Regions from separate parts of the Homo sapiens genome. Here regions 1, 2 and 4 are each linked to region 3. The links are contacts of gene promoters, found by promoter capture Hi-C in blood cells and fetal thymus (Javierre and others, 2016). All regions are on one chromosome and are shown on one strand. The core of a region is centred on a gene start or on the middle of the fragment in contact, and the rest is flanking DNA. Distances in the headings are between cores, read along the strand shown. Region 1 overlaps ASAH1-AS1 (ASAH1 antisense RNA 1). Region 2 overlaps ASAH1 (N-acylsphingosine amidohydrolase 1). Region 3 holds the start of CNOT7 (CCR4-NOT transcription complex subunit 7). Region 4 overlaps PCM1 (pericentriolar material 1).

What was found. Contacts are between HindIII fragments. The CHiCAGO score rates a contact against its expected background, and 5 or more counts as called.
Region 1: a contact is called between a fragment that was not itself captured here and the fragment with the promoter of CNOT7 in region 3, in 1 of 17 cell types (neutrophils). The highest score is 6.1, in neutrophils.
Region 2: a contact is called between a fragment that was not itself captured here and the fragment with the promoter of CNOT7 in region 3, in 1 of 17 cell types (neutrophils). The highest score is 7.1, in neutrophils.
Region 4: a fragment that was not itself captured here is called in contact with the fragment with the promoter of CNOT7 in region 3 in 1 of 17 cell types (neutrophils); the score reaches 6.8 in neutrophils.

The regions. Positions count from the first base shown.
Region 1 is chr8:18,087,828-18,092,661 of GRCh38, forward strand. The region is part of intron 4 of ASAH1-AS1 (ASAH1 antisense RNA 1); the gene reads left to right. It also overlaps the pseudogene ABRAXAS1P2. Among named protein-coding and RNA genes, the nearest start is that of ASAH1-AS1, 5.4 kb to the left of the region's middle. The HindIII fragment of the contact is 6,497 bases long and covers 1-4,834 here.
Region 2 is chr8:18,055,865-18,058,683 of GRCh38, forward strand. ASAH1 (N-acylsphingosine amidohydrolase 1) reads right to left here. Exons shown (of 14, transcript NM_177924.5): 14 at 128-1,759. The coding sequence ends at 1,670. Among named protein-coding and RNA genes, the nearest start is that of ASAH1, 27 kb to the right of the region's middle. The HindIII fragment of the contact is 9,765 bases long and covers 1-2,819 here.
Region 3 is chr8:17,243,868-17,248,654 of GRCh38, forward strand. CNOT7 (CCR4-NOT transcription complex subunit 7) reads right to left here and starts at 2,990. Exons shown (of 7, transcript NM_013354.7): 1 at 2,808-2,990; 2 at 1,169-1,380. The coding sequence starts at 1,285. VPS37A (VPS37A subunit of ESCRT-I) reads left to right here and starts at 3,091. Exons shown (of 12, transcript NM_152415.3): 1 at 3,091-3,502. The coding sequence starts at 3,378. RefSeq lists an enhancer at 2,739-3,587. The HindIII fragment of the contact is 11,268 bases long and covers 1-4,787 here.
Region 4 is chr8:17,976,750-17,981,276 of GRCh38, forward strand. It overlaps PCM1 (pericentriolar material 1), which reads left to right. Exons shown (of 39, transcript NM_006197.4): 24 at 3,842-4,006. Among named protein-coding and RNA genes, the nearest start is that of PCM1, 56 kb to the left of the region's middle. The HindIII fragment of the contact is 1,341 bases long and covers 1,716-3,056 here.

The DNA of each region.
Region 1 (4,834 bases), core at 1,037-3,536, 840 kb after region 3:
ACTGCGTGAGATCCAGCATTTTATCTGGCAACACTAGCTGTAATGTACTTCTAAAAAATTATCACCTAAGGATAATTTTAATGACTCAGATAAATTTCATATAAATTTCTTTCCACATTGTGAAAATAAGGCTATTCTAGCTTTTCTAATACTTTTTTTTTTTTTTTAATAGAGATGGGTCTCACTGTGTTGCCCAGGCTGGTCTCTAACTCCTGGCCTCAATCATTCCTGCCTTGTCTTCCCTAAGTGCTGGGATTACAGCTGTGAGCCACTGTGCCTGGCCTCACTTTTCCAATTCTAAAGAATGTGTGTAAGCCTTTCCCTCAACAACTTATTGAAAGGCGAAAAAAGGTTTGGAAATAAAAGGATCTGATGTTTGAAAAAGTACTTTGTAAAATAAATGCACTAAGACTTATCTGTGGATTACTGCAAAGAGGTGAATATAGTAAAAACAAATGAACTTACCTGTATTACTGCAAGTAGCTCAACCTAGTAAAAACAATGGAAATGTTTGACTTTACCCATCAGCCAAATTAAAAAAATCTCCTTTTAAGGTTAAAAGGATCAAAATGTAGGTGACCGTGAATATTCACCAAAACCTTCATCTTTTCAATCTCTTCATCTGTTTCTGGGCTGCTCATTTTGGATGCTTTTTTATTGGTTACTACTATCAGTATCTGTTTTAGATGGTTTGTCTTGTGTGTCTAACAGCCGTGAACACTCTTTTTTTTTTTTTTTTTTCTCCTGAGTCGAAGTATTCCTCTGTAGCCCAGGCTGGAGTGCAGTGGCAGGATCTCAGCTCACTGCAAGCTCCGCCTTCTGGGTTCACACCATTCTCCTGCCTCAGCCTCCCAAGCAGCTGGGACTACAGGCACCTGCCACCACGCCGGGCTAATTTTTTGTATTTTAATAGAGACAGGGTTTCACCATGTTAGCCAGGATGGTCTCTGTCTCCTGACCTCCTGATCCGCCCACCTTGGCCTCCCAAAGTGCTGGGATTATAGTCGTGAGCCACCGCGCCCAGCCAATTTTTTTGTATTAGAGATGGGGTTTCACTGTGTTAGCCAGGATGGTCTCGATCTCCTGACCTCGTGATCCGTCCGCCGTCATCTCTTGAACTGCCATCTGTCAGCTAAGTCTAAGGTTTTATGCTTAACCATTTGTGGTGTACTAGCTGGACTAGCTTCAGGAATGTCAGTGTTTTCTACCATTAAGGTCAGATTGTCTACTACATCGAGATGGTGGTGGTTGTTAGAGCTACCTTTAGAAACATGTCTGTTTTTTTAAAGACATAACACATGCATGAAGAATTCAGAATCTGGAAAAAAGGTCCATAATGTTTGACAAAGAAAAATGTTCTCCTGAGGGTCTTTTTTGGATGCTCTTCTCTCGTTCTGCTGGAATCTGGGCTCATCTCCTTTTTTCAATTTCTCGTTTTAATCTGTTTACATCCTTTACTAGTTTATCTACTGCTTGTTCACTGTCTTCCACTTTTTTGCATATACTCTTTAATTTCTCTTACAATGAAGCATACATTTCATTTATCTTATGTACCTCCTTTAAGGATCCATCTTCTTCAAAAAATTTAGAGCTGTGTGTTTGTACTGCTCGGCTAAAACCAGTGGACATACAGGAACCTGATACAGTTTTATAACCTAGTTGTTCAGACATGCCCAGATTGGCAACCACTGAAGGTACCCTGTGAAAAAGTCCTTTTCGAGGTTTATATAAGGCATGTTCCAGTCGATGAGTAGAGCGGCTTTCTGTTATTATACTTGGTGTTCATAGCAGAAAAACCAGGTCTTGGTTTGAAAAATGCTCCTGCAAGTTTTTGTGAAGCAGCCTCTCTCTAAATGTCATGATCTGATCTGAATGACGATGGAATTTGTAACAACCTACCACATTTTTTGTGAATTTGATAATATTTTCCTCAGTGCCTGCTTATTTACTTCACCTGAAGAATTATAAAAACTAAAAAACTGATAGCATGGAATATATTTCTGAATGTCAATTGTATAAACAACTTCAGCATCATCTATTTGGGAATCAGTAATGCTATTCTTTTTTTTTTTTTTTTGAGATGGAGTCTAGCTCTGTCACCCAAGTTGGAGTGAGGTGGCCCGATCTTGGCTCACTGCAACCTCTGCCTCCCGGATTCAAGCAATTTTCCTGCCTCAGCCTCCCAAGTAGCTGGGATTACAGGCGCCCACCACCATGCCCAGCTAATTTTTTGTATTTTTAGTAGAGACGAGGTTTCACCATGTCAGCCAGGCTGGTCTCGAACTCCTGACCTCAGGTGATCCACCCGCCTCAGCCTCCCAAAGTGCTGGGGTTACAGGCGTGAGCCACCATGCTTGGCCTTGTCTTCTCCCTTCTAATATGAAAGAGGAAGCTAGGAATCCCCATTGCTGCTGGCATGCATGCTATAAACCTGAAGGGAGCCACCTAAGATGAAATTGATACTGTGGACTACACAGTAGAAAGATGGAAAGAAACTGGGTCATTGATGACATTGTCAAGATGCTAGATCAACCAACCACAGATCCTGTCCAACAACTGGACTCTTGATTTACATCAGCCACTACTCTGTTATTGAATCTTGGACAAGTTGGTTTGCTTACAAGTTAAATTATTGTATCTGAGAGCATCCTAACTGATACACACATGAAAATAGACATTTCTCCTTTGTTGAGAAGGATGTACAACAAATCTATGAACTTTAAGTTTTAGTACCTTCACTTGCTCATGCCCCTTCCCAACCTTTTACTAAATTTTATGCTTGTAATTTTGTATTCTTTTCCTTAAGGAGGACCACTTAAATTGCATAAGATTCAGGTGTCACCAAACCTGGATCTAGCATCAGATGTTGTTGGAAGAAAATGTCCACCTTTCTCTGCCGTCTCCTCCATTCATGTCTCCCTAGGGAAGGAGAGATGTATGATGTATCTAATCAGTAAATAGTTGAAAAGGTCACAGAACGTGCGTGGCCTGGCCTCTCTTCTGGCGCTTTCATTCAGATCTGCCTCCCCACAGTAGTAGATATGCCTGCCCACACTGGTAATTCTACTGCAGCAAGCCTTGAATGACAACAGTGGACGTGAAAGTAGTTGCTGCCTTTGACCACATCTTCCCAAAGTGGCACGTCACCAACAGACTTTAAAATCATGACGTTATAACGTAATGGCTGTGAAGATTTGGAAGAAAGCACTCTAAAATGAGAGCTCTGAGAGATGTAGAGAGAAGGCAGTCAAGGAATAGCGCCTATAAGCACCTCCTGCACATCCGGTCCCTGCGCCTCCATCCTCACCCTGCCCTCAGCTCACTCCCCTCCTGTTAGAAATTGGCTGTGCCCCTGAAAAGTCATTTGCATTTGCCTAAAGACTGAGTACACAAGCTCATTCCAAAGTAGAAGGTGTTGAAGTTCCATTTTGGCCTCAGGTCAAAATTGTTTTCTCTATTTCAGCTTAATGAGCAAGAAAGCAGAATCTAATATGTGTATATTTCTAACGCCTGTGTATATTTCTCAACTGTTTCCCAGCTCAGAAAGGTGAGGAGTATGACAGTCACCCTGAAATGACAACAGAAGCCAACAATAACAATTATAGTAATAATGTGTGTATAGAAAGTACTAAATGACCATTAAATGAAGAGCAGATTACTAGGTGCTATGGAAGATACACATGCAGTGAAATACAAATTCCAGATCTCAGGGAGTTTGCAACCGAAAAAGAATATAACACTAATATATATACAAGGGGACTTCAAAACGTTCACCTGCACCCTCCACCTCCCAGGTTCAAAGATGGAGTTAAAGGATAAAAAGTATAAACTTTATTTCTTTTTTTTTTTTTTTTTGTGAGATGGAGTCTCCCTCTGTCGCCCAGGCTGGAGTGCAGTGGTGCAATCTCGGCTCACTGCAAGCTCCCCCTCCCAGGTTCACGCCATTCTCCTGCCTCAGCCTCCTGTCATAAGCACCATCAAGGTCAAGACACTTTTGTCAGGGATGATACCAGCCATTTAGTCCATCCTTAAAAAAAAGAGGGTCCTGGGAATTTAACCATGTCAATGCAGTCTTTATTAACTGAAGAAAAATGGGTGCCCTTTACAGATTTTTTAAGATTAGGAAACAAAAAGAAGTCAGAAAGATTTCCTGTGGAAGCTCTTGCAAAATTGCCCTTGTTTGATGAGAGGAATGGGCAGGAGCATTGTCATGGTGAAGAAGGACTCTCTGGTGAATCTCCTGGGCATTTTTCTGATAAGGCTTTGGCTTTCTCAAAATACTCTAATAATAAGGAGATGTTGTCATTTTTTGGCCCTCCAGAAAATCAACAAGCGAAATGCCTTGAGCATCAAAAAGAAATGTTGCCATGATCTTTGCTCTTGACTGCTTTGTTTGTTTGTTTTTGGAGACAGAGTCTTGTTCTCTCACCCAGACTGGAGCGCAGTGGTGCAATCTCGGCTCACTGCACCTGCACCCTCCACCTCCCAGGTTCAAACAATTCTCCTGCCTCAGCCTCCCGAGTAGCTGAGATTACAGACATGCACCACCACTCCTGACTAATTTTGTATATTTATATTTATATTTTTATTTTATTGTTATTTCTTGGAGACAGAGTCTCGCTCTGTCACCCAGGTTGGAGTGCAGTGGTGCCATCTCGGCTCACTGCAACGTCTGCCTCCCAGGCTCAAGTGATTCTCATGCCTCAGCCTCCGGAGCAGCTGGGATTACAGGTGCATGCCGCTACGCCCGGCTAATTTTTGTATTTTTAGTAGAGACAGGCTCTCACCGTGTTGACCAGGAGGGTCTCAAACTCCTGACCTCAAACGATCCACC
Region 2 (2,819 bases), core at 320-2,819, 810 kb after region 3:
TAAACAGGCTCATCCTGTATATCCTATTTTAAAACTGCTTTACCACTAAACAATTACTTCCTAAAATCTTAATACCTGTTATTTCTTGTAAACTTTGATTTACTCCGGAGAAATCGGTCTGAAACAATTAGCATCTCACCTCTTTACTATCAGGCATATCAAAGGTTATTACATTAACAAAAAAATACATCAAGTTGACCTGACTTCATTTATGTAAGAGGTAGAAAATCTGAGTAAAGTTTTTTTTTCATTAATTAAATCCTATTTTAATGTAAATCCTCTTATAATTCCTCGTTTCACTAAAGTAATCTTGGAATCACTAAAGTTTTGTGGAAGCACCACCTATCTGGGGGAAAAACTGCCTTTAAACACCTGCAAATTGGGTTGATAGTATCTGGTTAAGAGGTGGTATCAGTCATGTAAGAGTAAGATTGTGACCGTTTAGTCATATTTAATAACCCACTTACATAACCCTTGTTATTTAATTCAGATACGATGTTCAGCTTGTATTTCTTGATAATAACCCCCCTCCTCCAAACCAACACAGATGTACACACCCAATCAGCGTGCATGACTGCTGACTGGCACTCTTTCCAGTGACTGTTTATTGAGTGTCAGGAACACAACTGTGATTATACAAAATGAAGTGGACAAACGGTCTTGCACAAATGACGTACATTTCACAGTTAATCGTGAAGGTTAGAAAGGTTAACAAGTTCTATTAGTACTTTTCATAAGCAGTTTGATTTCTGAAAAATACAGTAACATAATTTTAGTAACTACTAAAATTTCTTTAAAACTCCCTATCAATCTGAAGAACAAACTAAAAACCTGTTTATTACATGAATGCTACTTATGAGAATTTAAAATATGGGTTCACTTCCTATTTTCCACAAGTCTTTGACTTGTTTATTTACTAAATTAACAGAACGTGGGATGCAGTTTTTTAAGTTAGCAACTTCCTTAGGGTTACTGGGAAGTAGAGTAATTATGAAAAAGGGAACACTTCAATTATTGTATAAAAGATTGCTTTGCATACTGATTACTTCTTGAACCCCAAAAAGTGCTATTTAGAGGCAAGGGCCCATTTTGTGCCCATTAAAAGAAATATACAGGTGAATGTCTGTCTCATCCCTCTAATCATATGTAATAAAATTATATCGCTGTCAATAACAGCAAAGATAATGATATATTAATTTTAACAGCAGTTAGAACCAGAAGGAAAAGGCTGTTATACAGAAAAACATACAAATATGTAGGTAGAAGTGAAAAACTGAAGAATGTGGAGTGTTTACTGTCCCGTTACTCACACAGACGTGCTGGATTCAACACCCACGCTGAATCTCCATTTATTCCACGGAGGTGGAGTTCACCATGGTTCGACTGCCCACCAGATCCCCAAATGTCAAAGTGAAACAAAACTCAGTGAATTCTAGATGACTGTTTTACTTCCCCTAAAGAAGTTATCTGTAAATAAGAAAAATCAACTGATAGGGGGAAAAAAAAAAGATCTGTCATTTGTCAACAGATGGACGAAGACAAGCTATTGACTCAAAGAGAACCTGCCGCGAGTCTTAGTCTTTGGAAGGTCAGACAGCTGCAGTGTTCGGTCACATGGAGATGGTGTCTTCATGTCTCAGAGGCCGCATTCTGTAGGCCAGACGTGTGCTCACCAACCTATACAAGGGTCAGGGCAGTCCCGCAGGTAAGTTTCGAATTGACCTTTGGTAACATCTATCAAGGTTGTGTATACGGTCAGCTGAAAGAAAAGTTATTTTTACTTTAAGGACGTTTTCAATTCAGAGATGTTCTGATATATATTAGCATTTCTATACTTGTAGAATTTGCTTTAGAAGTTATTTAATATTAAATAATATAACTTAATATATGCAAAGCATGTTATATAATGTATATATTTATATTAATATAGTATAATCATATAAAATTAGCTAAAGTCTCACCAAATAACTAAAGCAAACAACTTCAACAGGATCACTGTTTCAGGTAATGAATATAAACAGGCTCAGGAAAGAATCTCCAGCTCCTTATAGGAGCTTATTCCTGACAGCACATTGCTCCACCCCCAATGCTTTAAGACTGCCTTAACCCTCCTTGACGCACAGCTGGCAGTCCTGGGAGACCTGCCGGTGTCCTATGGAGTAAAAACCGTGGAGCTTTGGCTATCCCTATCCTTAAAGCATTTCCAATACAGTGGGGGAAACTGCAGGCACCCAGATCACAAGGCACACACCCAAACACAAGTCACGAGATTGTGACTTGCTCAAAGATGGTATAGGCAAAACGCAAGTATGGCAGGGCCCGTGAACTGAAGGCAGGCTTCCTGTGAGAGCCAGGGTGACCTGGATGCTAAAGGCCGGAGGGATTTGTCCTGGCAGGGTAAAGGCGGCATGTTTACTTTAGGGAGAGCTGTGGAGAAGGACCAAGAAAAGAAGGAACAAATGGGAAAATTAGGGGGGCATATTCAGAACGTTCAGGGAATGATTGTTAGCGAGTGGTGGGATGATAGGAAACTTTTTGCATTTTTTTAAAACTACAGTGTAGGGAAAAGATAAACAGATGTAGTAAAGTTTAAGGGAAACCCGAACCCACCAAGACACAGAGCTCTGTCTGAAAATGGACTGCAGACTTTGTTTTGTTGACATTTAGGTGTTAGTTATATAGTGTGAGATTTTTAATAGATACCAATAAGAGTAAAATGCTAGCCTTAATTCAAATGCTATGTAAATAAAGCTATAAACAATATTCTGACCTATCAAGCCTCAGTGATCAATTTCTTTCTTGTATTCCAAAATACAGTT
Region 3 (4,787 bases), core at 1,740-4,239:
TACAAAGAAACAGTCATATTTTAACCAATCAACTTGCTCCTCCCCAAAGTAATGCATTTGTTTATTTTTATTAAAAATACTGAGACAAAGATACATCGGTTTAGTATTAGAATTCAAACTAGGGCTAGCTAAGAATAAAAACTACCTATCAAGTCACTATGAAATAGTAAAGAAATCAATATTTCTCTAAATTCAGTGCAATTCAACAGCCACTTTATTGAATACTATATGTGTTATGCTAGGTGTTGGGAGAGAAAGGATTAAAACACTTGGTTTATGGAGCTAATAATAATCCAGTGGATGTAGAAAACAGTAGGGTAGCTAACAGATATAGACAGTATAATGGTAAAGAAGAAAAATCATTAACTGGATAGACAATCTAGGCAGACCAAACAGCACGTGCAAAAGCAGAGTTGCTTAGTAACACAGTATATTCACAGAACTCCAGTGTTAATTATGAAAACAAATTGCAGACCAACAACGTTTCACTGGCACATCTGATTTTTTTGTTTGAGAAAGAGCACCCTAGCTTCTGGGAGCTCATGTGGTACTACCAGCTAGGCTTTGGTGTTGCTAGGAGCAGACCTGGCACTCATAGCCACGCCCTAATGTTCTCCTGTTGAACACAATTTCACAAAAGTTCAACCTCAAATAAGGCCACTCTGTAATCATGTCTGAACAAGGACAAAAAAATAAAAATGTCAAACCACAAAATGACCAAGTATCTCCATCCTGGCTAAATGAATGACTGTTCCTTCTCTGCAGCTTTAACCTCATTCTAGTCTCTCATTTAAGACTTAGTAAGATACCCAATCACAGAATTACCCCAGCTTCCCGAACACATCCAATCCACAGTAAAGCTCTGCTTCCCTTACCTTCCCCTAAGACCACCTGACACGAGCCCAAATCCTTCCTAACTCTTATTCAAACGGCCCATGGTTCCCATGAATTCCAGTGCGTTTTCCCTCACTGCAATGAGGGATAAACCCAACCTGTCAAATCACAGGTGTATTCCTGATGGATTTTGGCTGGAGGGCAGTGACAAATTTTACTTTTCATGGTGAAATTAATCCCTAAAAATATCAACCAAAAGGGTTGAATTCAAGACTTTAAAATTTCCTTTTCCTCCTTTATATGAAGCGTTTTAAAGATCTGCTTGTGGGCATACCATAGCAACGTAATTATATTTTCGGATAACTTGACGAATTTTCTTCATCTCTTCATCCAAGTTGCAAGCCCAAACTTCACAAATTCTTTGGCTATGATCTACAGTTGCCGCTGGCATAGTGAGGGCACAAGGGAGTCTAGATGCCAAGCATCAAAATGTTATACTTGATTGAAGATTTGTTTCATAAAATATTTTATCCTTTATTTATGTACCTGTCAAAATAAAAAAACAATATGAAGACCAGATATATCAAATCTGAATCACAGAATAATTGATCCAGCAGGAACCTAAGAAGTTATTTATTCAAAGTTCTTGACTCATAAAAAAAAAAAATCAAAGTTTAGAAAGTAACTTAAGGTCACACAGCTAGTCTATAGGAAAAAAAGGACTACAGTACAGATTTCCTGGTCCTAATTTCAGTTATTTTAAAATAGCTTTTTTACACATACATACTAATCATATTTTATAACTTTCCACTAATTATTTATCTGAGTTCAACTACTCTGCATAAAACTTTATAAAGCCATCCATTTCCAGACAAAAAATGAAAAATTACTTATTTACATGTGACAAGATCAGATGTTACCATGGCAAAGATGGTGTTTATTTTTATTCCTCATTAATAAAACAACCAAAATCCGACTTGATAACAAGATCTACTTTACCGGCGTTTATTCTAACTAGACTAGAGGGGTCAAAAATGTTTGTAAATGCTCTGAGAAAAAAGTAACGGCCATGAAAATTATCTGAATGTTCGCAGTTGCAGAACGGAAAAAGAACACAATAGAACGTCTAAAACTTAGAGCATATTGCATGGTTACCAAAGATAGATGTCACATTTCTGGTCTATAAACAGAGTTCCTGTTGATTCTTGGGCAGGGAAATTTCAAATCCTTCTGCATTTTTCATACAAATTGGAAAAAAAAAAAACAAGAGTAAAAAGAGGGTCTTATGACTGTCTTCTAAACTCTGAAGAGTCACAAATGTAACTTCCAATTCTCCAAGTAGAGAAACTAAAGGAGATCCAGGACACCCCTCCTTTATAACTCTCCCACCCCGATAGGCACACACACACACATAAGCACAAAAACACAAAGACTTGGAAAGACCCTGTAGTCTAACATTGTTTTCCTCCACCTCTCTCTCTACTGCAGTCCCAGAAGCCCCGAAGAGACACCAAAGGCCTTCTCATTACTGGAGAAAGCATCTCCGTACTGCAGTTTCCCAGAGAAACGAGAGGACGGCACCGAGGTATTCAAGCCATAGATAACTCTCTTCCCTGGCAAAGCGCCAGTGCGAAGGTGCTGATAACACTGACTGGAGCTACACTGACTCCCAAGCACTGCCGCGTGAAACAATACGAAGAGGTGAGGATCTAGGCCACCGCCCTCCACTCCCAATTTCCGTCCCACTGCGAAGCCCCAGGTACAAAGCCTTTGCGTCATCACTACGCGCCAACCCCTTGACAAACCCCCAGCCCCAGTTACCCAGCCCCCAACCCGCCGCCAGGCTCCTTCCTCCGCCAGCCGCACTCCAGCTGGCGCCATCGCGCACCCTCTCAGGTTCATCGTCCCCGCCCCCTTTCTACTTCCCTAACCCGCCCCTCCCCCCGTAAGGCTGCAGCGGATGCAAGATCTACTTGTGTCGCTGAGCTCGCGCTCCTCCTCCTCCTCCTCGCCATAGAGACAGCACTCGGCGGCGGTGGCGGTGGCGGTGGCGGTAGCGGCGGCGGCAGCGGGTGCCCCATAGACACCTCTCGCCCAGCGAAGGGAAAGGCGAGCAGGAGCTGCGCCGCACCGTGCTGCGCCGTCGCTTTTCGCACGTCCTGACGGGGGCGCTAGATGATGACGCGACACGCAGAGGGGGCGGAGAGCGCCCCCGGGGGCGGGGCACGCAAGTGACGGCGGCGCGGGTGGTGGAGCGCTGGGCGGCCAGGCTCCCTGGCTGGCCGGTTTGGGCGTCTGGGCCGTGAAGGTGGGACCTCCTGTTCCGGGCCGCAAGTTTCCCTCTCCAGCCGCCCGCCGTTCGTAGCATGTCCCCCAGAACTCGGGGAGCGCAGGCAGGACAGGCTTAGAGAAGACGCGGTCCCCAGCGCTTGGGCCACGGACGTCCCACCCCGCTCCTCTGTCGCTGGAGAACCGCCGGGCCGAGCCACTGGGAGAAGCAGGCCAGAGCCTTCCAGGGCCTCCGGCCCGTGGACCCGAGGAGGATGAGCTGGCTTTTTCCCCTGACCAAGAGCGCCTCCTCCTCCGCGGCTGGGTCCCCCGGTGGCCTCACCAGCCTCCAGCAGCAGAAGCAGCGCCTGATCGAGTCCCTCCGGAACTCACACTCCAGGTGACTGGTCGCTGCCTCTCCACCGGAGGAAAAAGTAGGGTGGGAGGGCGGGCTTGTCCTAACCACCCTCACAGCGCCTCAGTCTGCTCCCCACCAGCTCCTCATGTGGTTTACCTCCCTTGGTTGTGGGTCACACGCTTGCTCTGCCACTCCTGCCCCCTTTTACTGTTTTCCTCCGGACCCTCCCTGCCTCCTGCCGCACCACTGCTCAGCGCTTCTAACTCGGATTTCCTCATCCCTCCTGACACATAGCTGCTGACTGTAATCTCTCAATCTCTCTCATAGTCTATTTCCAGTATCCCTTGCTGCCCAGGCTTCGCCACTGATCTTTCCCTTTGCCCACCTGATTGCCGCGTCAGCAGAATTGTTAAAATACAATTGTGAAGAGTAATCTCCAGGTTTCACAAAGAATGGAAAATAGAACTGTTGCAACATCAAAGGAAAGGGAAGCCAGAGTTTTCATCAGTGAATGCTTCTCGTCTGAGAGTCACTTATCACGTAGTCAGTCTTCTTGAGTCTCTAAGATTTACCCTGTTGGAGCAGTCTCTCCCCATCTCACAGCGACCAGTGCATGTACATTTCTCACTTCTTTCATAGTCTTGTCCCCACGCTCAAGAATTACTTTATGTTCATCTTGATTGTTCTGTTGTCTTCCTGTGAGTTTTTCATTTTATCATGGTCAGTTTAGAAATATTTTTACAATTCATATTATTTCAACTTTTACTGTAAATTGGTTTGCTGCAGCCTTTTACATTGCAAATGTCTATGGTCTCTAATGGTTTTCAAAAATTAGAACTGCTTCTTTATATTTTATGCATTTTGCAAGTATATTTACTTAACAGTTTCACACTATTTTAAATAAAGATGACAACATTGTTAAGTCCCTAACCCCTTTTTTTTTTTTTTTTTTTGCCGGGGGTACGGCTCTCCTGTTGCCCAGGCTGGAGCGCAGTGGCGCGATCTCGGTTCACTGCAACCTCCGTCTCCCGGATTCAAGCAATCATCCTCCCTCAGCTCCCCACACCCCTCCGAGTAGCTGGGATTACAGGTGCGCGCCACCATGCGCGGCTAATATTTTGTATTTTTAGTAGAGACGGGGTTTCACCACATTGGTCAGGCTGGTCTCGAACTCCTGACCTTAGATTATCCACCCGCTTCGGCCTCCCAAAGTGCTGGGATTACAGGAATAAGCCACCTCGCCGGGCTCCTAGCCCTTTTAAAAATATTATTTTCATACAGTTAAAAAATATGTATCCTCAGATAATATCGAATAATTCTTATTTAA
Region 4 (4,527 bases), core at 1,136-3,635, 730 kb after region 3:
AGAGTGGTGAAGTGGCATAGGCGATAACATCCTTATCTCTCATCAGTCACACATTAGTACCTTAACTTTGGAAATCTAGCCTTTGATGTTTTTAATTTGGGACTCATATATAAAACCAGTTTTTTTTTTTTCTCTTTTCGTAGCATCTTAATAATTATAGCCTACTTCTCTTCACAGTTTCAGCTATTTTGGAGGATGACTGTATGTATTCCTTTTTAAAGTACCTATTGGGACTCCCCACTGAGAATTTCGTATATGCCACATTAAGTGCATTTTAATTTTGATTAAAATTTATTCATCACTTTTCATGTGATACAGTAACAGCATTTAAATGTTTAATTTCACTTATATAAATGTTCATGTTAGAATAACATACTTAAAATCTTTTTCTTTAGATCATTGTATGTTATTAAATGAGCAATAGTACTACCAGTCATGTCATTTTACATATTGCTTTTGGCACTCATACTCTTTATTGCTGGTTTTATATTAAGATCAATAATAATCAAGAGGTCTCTCTTTTCAGTAAATTTCATGCAGACTCGGTGGCAGAGGCTAAACTTTAGTTTGAGAGACCAGTGAAAAAACCTGGAACCTAAAGTTGAGATGATGAAGTCTTACATAATGGCCTTGGAAATAGAGAGGGAGGGCTGAATCTAGATGGGATATCACAGATAATAAATTGACAATATTTGGGAAAATTATTTGTTGTTAGTAGACCTGTGCGGTGATCTGGAAGATGCAAGCAAGGCTTTAGGGTCTGCTGGCTTTTTCCTAGAGTGTCAGGAGCATGGTCAGATCTCCATGATTCTTGGAGAAAGCTATGTTGGAGGAGATCCTTGCAATTCCTCCTGTTATTAACCCTTCCCCTTACCCCCAAGAGTAGCAGTGTTTTGCTACTGCAAGCTACTAGTTGGCAGAAAGGTTATTGAGTAAGTAGGTGGCAGTCTTCCTTAACCCTGTACATGGGAGAGCATTAGTCTTTGCAGCTGAAGAGACTAAGCAGTAGAGAAGATTCCTCTCATTGTCTTGATGAGGGACTGACAGCTTGCTAGCGAAAATGTTGCTTGACCACAGGAATGAGACTTCCATGCACCCTCATCTTGCCATTATTAAAGCTATCCAGCATTTGGGTCCAGCCTTAAGAGAAGGTGAGAGTCATGACTAGGCCAGTGAATATAACAGTGCATATAAAAGGGACCTAGTTACCAGGGAGAAAACAGAAGTAGACCACTGAAAGAGGCAAAACCTAGTGAAAATAGAATTATTGAACAAAATATTGAACAAATACACTTGAACAAAATAATAAGGGCACATAAGCAGATTGAATTATAACAAATTCTTTAGAGCTAGAAAAAAATGACATTAAGTTTTAATGTTTAGATTATTTAAAAAAGAGGACACGTGCTATTAAGTTCCAAATTACAGGCCTAGAAAATCAGGGGGAAGAATTATGTCATTAAATGGAATGAAAGTACTAACAGATAAAATCAAGAGAAGACGATTAGAGACTTACAAGAAGTTCTGAAGGGGAAAATAAAAAACCAGGTGGACAAGCAATAACTAAATAATAGATGGGATGAAGAAAGACTTGAGACTGCAGATCAGAACAGCTGGCTGTTGTCTAGCCAGGAGAGAAGTGAGGGAAACACACAAACACCTATGCAGAGTCTGGCAAAATCCCTGAATTCCAAGGAAAAAGTAAAAATCCTCTAAGCTTCCATATGAAAGACCAAGTTGCATACAAAGAAAAAGAACCAAACCGACACCAGGCAATCTTCCTTACCACACAAGCAGAAGTAGAAAAAAGTGGAATGACGCTACACAGTTGACAAAGAACTGCAACTCAGGAACCTTGTACTCAGCCAAAGGACCCTCCACATGTCAGAATGAAAAGGAGATACTAGTTTATCCTATCTGAGGAAAACTAAAGAAACAACCTGTGAATCAAAATAGAGACCTTTATACAGGGGAAGATAAAGAAGACAGAGAACAGTTTAATAAAGAAAACAGTAGATCAGTCTCACTAATATAAATTCAAAAGTAAAAATAAAATATTAGCAAATTGAATCTGCCATTGTATCAAAAGAATTCTAGACTATCAACACTAGAGTTTATTTCAGACATGTAATGATGATTTGTTACCAGGAAATCTGTCAACATAATTTATTCTATCAAAGGGACAAATAATCATAGAAGCTATTCTCATGAGAATTTGAAGTAAAATGGGTATAAGAAGGCAGTTATGCCTGTAATCCCAGCACTTTGGGAGGGCGAGGCAGTTGGATTGCTTGAGCCTGGTAGGTGGAGTTTGCAATGAGCCAAGACTGTGTCACTGTACTTGAGCCTGGGCAACAGAATGAGACTCAGTCTCAAAAGAAAAGAAAAAAAAAAAAAAAGCAGTTATTTGAGTGTAATAAAGACTGTTAGCCAGTGTACATCATTGTAAATGAAAGTACTCCAGAGATATTTCTATCTCAGTTAGGAACTAAACAGGGATTCCTTCTGTCCCACCATCATTATTTACCATTATTTGGGAAGCATTAGGTCAAATAATTGGAATTATAATGGTAGTAAATATTGGAAAAGGAAGGAAGCAAGTTTTATGTGTTCTTTTCTAGTGGCATTTTTGTATACTAAGAAAGCCCAAGAGATACTGGAAAGTAGCTCCTAGAGTTACAAGGTAAACTGTTAAAGTGGCTGGTTATGGAATAAGTGTGTGAATATTTTTCTCTGTTGTAATATCCAGTAGCATGAAAGTGGAGAGGAACGCTCTTCTCATAGTAGTACTCTAAGTGTTTGAGTGGGGGGTATGAAATGTAAGGAACAAATTTAACAAGGAAAGTACTAGGTCTATAAAAAGCTATAAAGTATTTTTGAAGAACATCAGAAAGATTGAACAAATATAAAAACATAACCATGTTCTTAAGATGGAAAAGATGGAAATGCATAAGATTATTAAATACCATTTCTCCTGAGATTAATACATACTTTTAATTTGATTCCATTTTGAGTCCCCAGAGATTGTTTTTAAAATTAAAAACAAAAAACAACAAAGCTTATGTGGAAGGACAGATGCCCAAGAATAGTCAAGAAAAAAGTGAAGCTAGTGGGACTTGCCTTAGCAGATATTTGATCATCCTGTATAACTTGTGTTTCTAAATGAATAAAAATGGCATTGGAATAGCTAAGTTGAACACATAAATGTCCAAAAGTAAAACCCCAAATATTGGAATTTAATATATTGACCGATGTGTATTTTAATTCAGTGGAAAGAGGGTAGGTATAGCCACCTATCCATGTGGAACAAAAAAAAAAAAGGAATTTCTACCTTGTATATATACCAAAATATTTTAAAAACTTGAAAATTTTATAGAATATATGTATAACCTATCAGTGGGTAAGACCTTTTAAACCAAGTCATGTCACATAAAAGATAACAATAAGAAAGGCAAATGTATTTGACTACTCTCCCTCTATAATGGATATTTGTATATATCGGATGTGATTCTTATGTCTCCTAATATTAAAAATTGCTAACTTGGAATTCTAGTAGAGATTTGGGGTCATGTAAGGTCTGCCATATACTTCGAATTGGAATATACTCATTAAGATGAGTATCAAAGAACAGTGAAGGTTAGATTTATTACTGTTAGCTCATGCTTCCAAAGGGTATTGCAAAGATACCTCCAAGACATATTTACTGTTTTGTATTCTATTTATACCAGGCCTTCCTAGCATTGTAAATTGAGTTACCTGTACTGTTACACAATGGAAACCGATTTCCCTTTTAGTTTGAGTTAGTTGCAACTGATAACAGTTGTCACTTTTTTTACTCAAGGGTATGAAAGTGCCAGTATGTCTAGCACATGTGAACCTTGCAAAAGTAGGAACAGACATTCAGCCCAGACTGAAGAGCCTGTTCAAGCAAAAGTATTCAGCAGAAAGAATCATGAGCAACTGGAAAAAATAATAAAATGTAATAGGTCTACAGAAATATCTTCAGGTATGTTCTTTTTTGGTTTGCATTAATATAAGGAGGTTTTCAGCTTAGATTTGAAAAGCTATAATAAAGCAGGTGTTAAAATTGGTGTTTCACACGTATCTATCATGTGGAAGGTTTTATAGTGGAAATTATAGTACACATTCCTTGATACTGAAAAATAAAAACTGAAAATATTTTGTGTTATACTATTTAATAGTTTTGGACACATTTTAATAAAATTCTAAACAAAGGATAGTTACAATTGTGGAACTCTTCAAATTCTGAAAATCTTATCTGATTAAGAATTAGATATGAAATCATGTCATCTCCTGCTTCAATCCTTTGGCTTACTGTGCCTACAGGATAAAGTCTGAATGCCTTCATGGAACGTACATGGCCATCAGGGATTTGGTTCCTTCCTGCCTCTCCAGACTCATTTCTCAACACACTCTGCCTTGAACTTTTTTCTTTCTGTGGCACTGAACTGGAGTTTTTGTATAGCTATCACATTCTTTCTTACCTTGGTAGCTGTTTTTCTATCT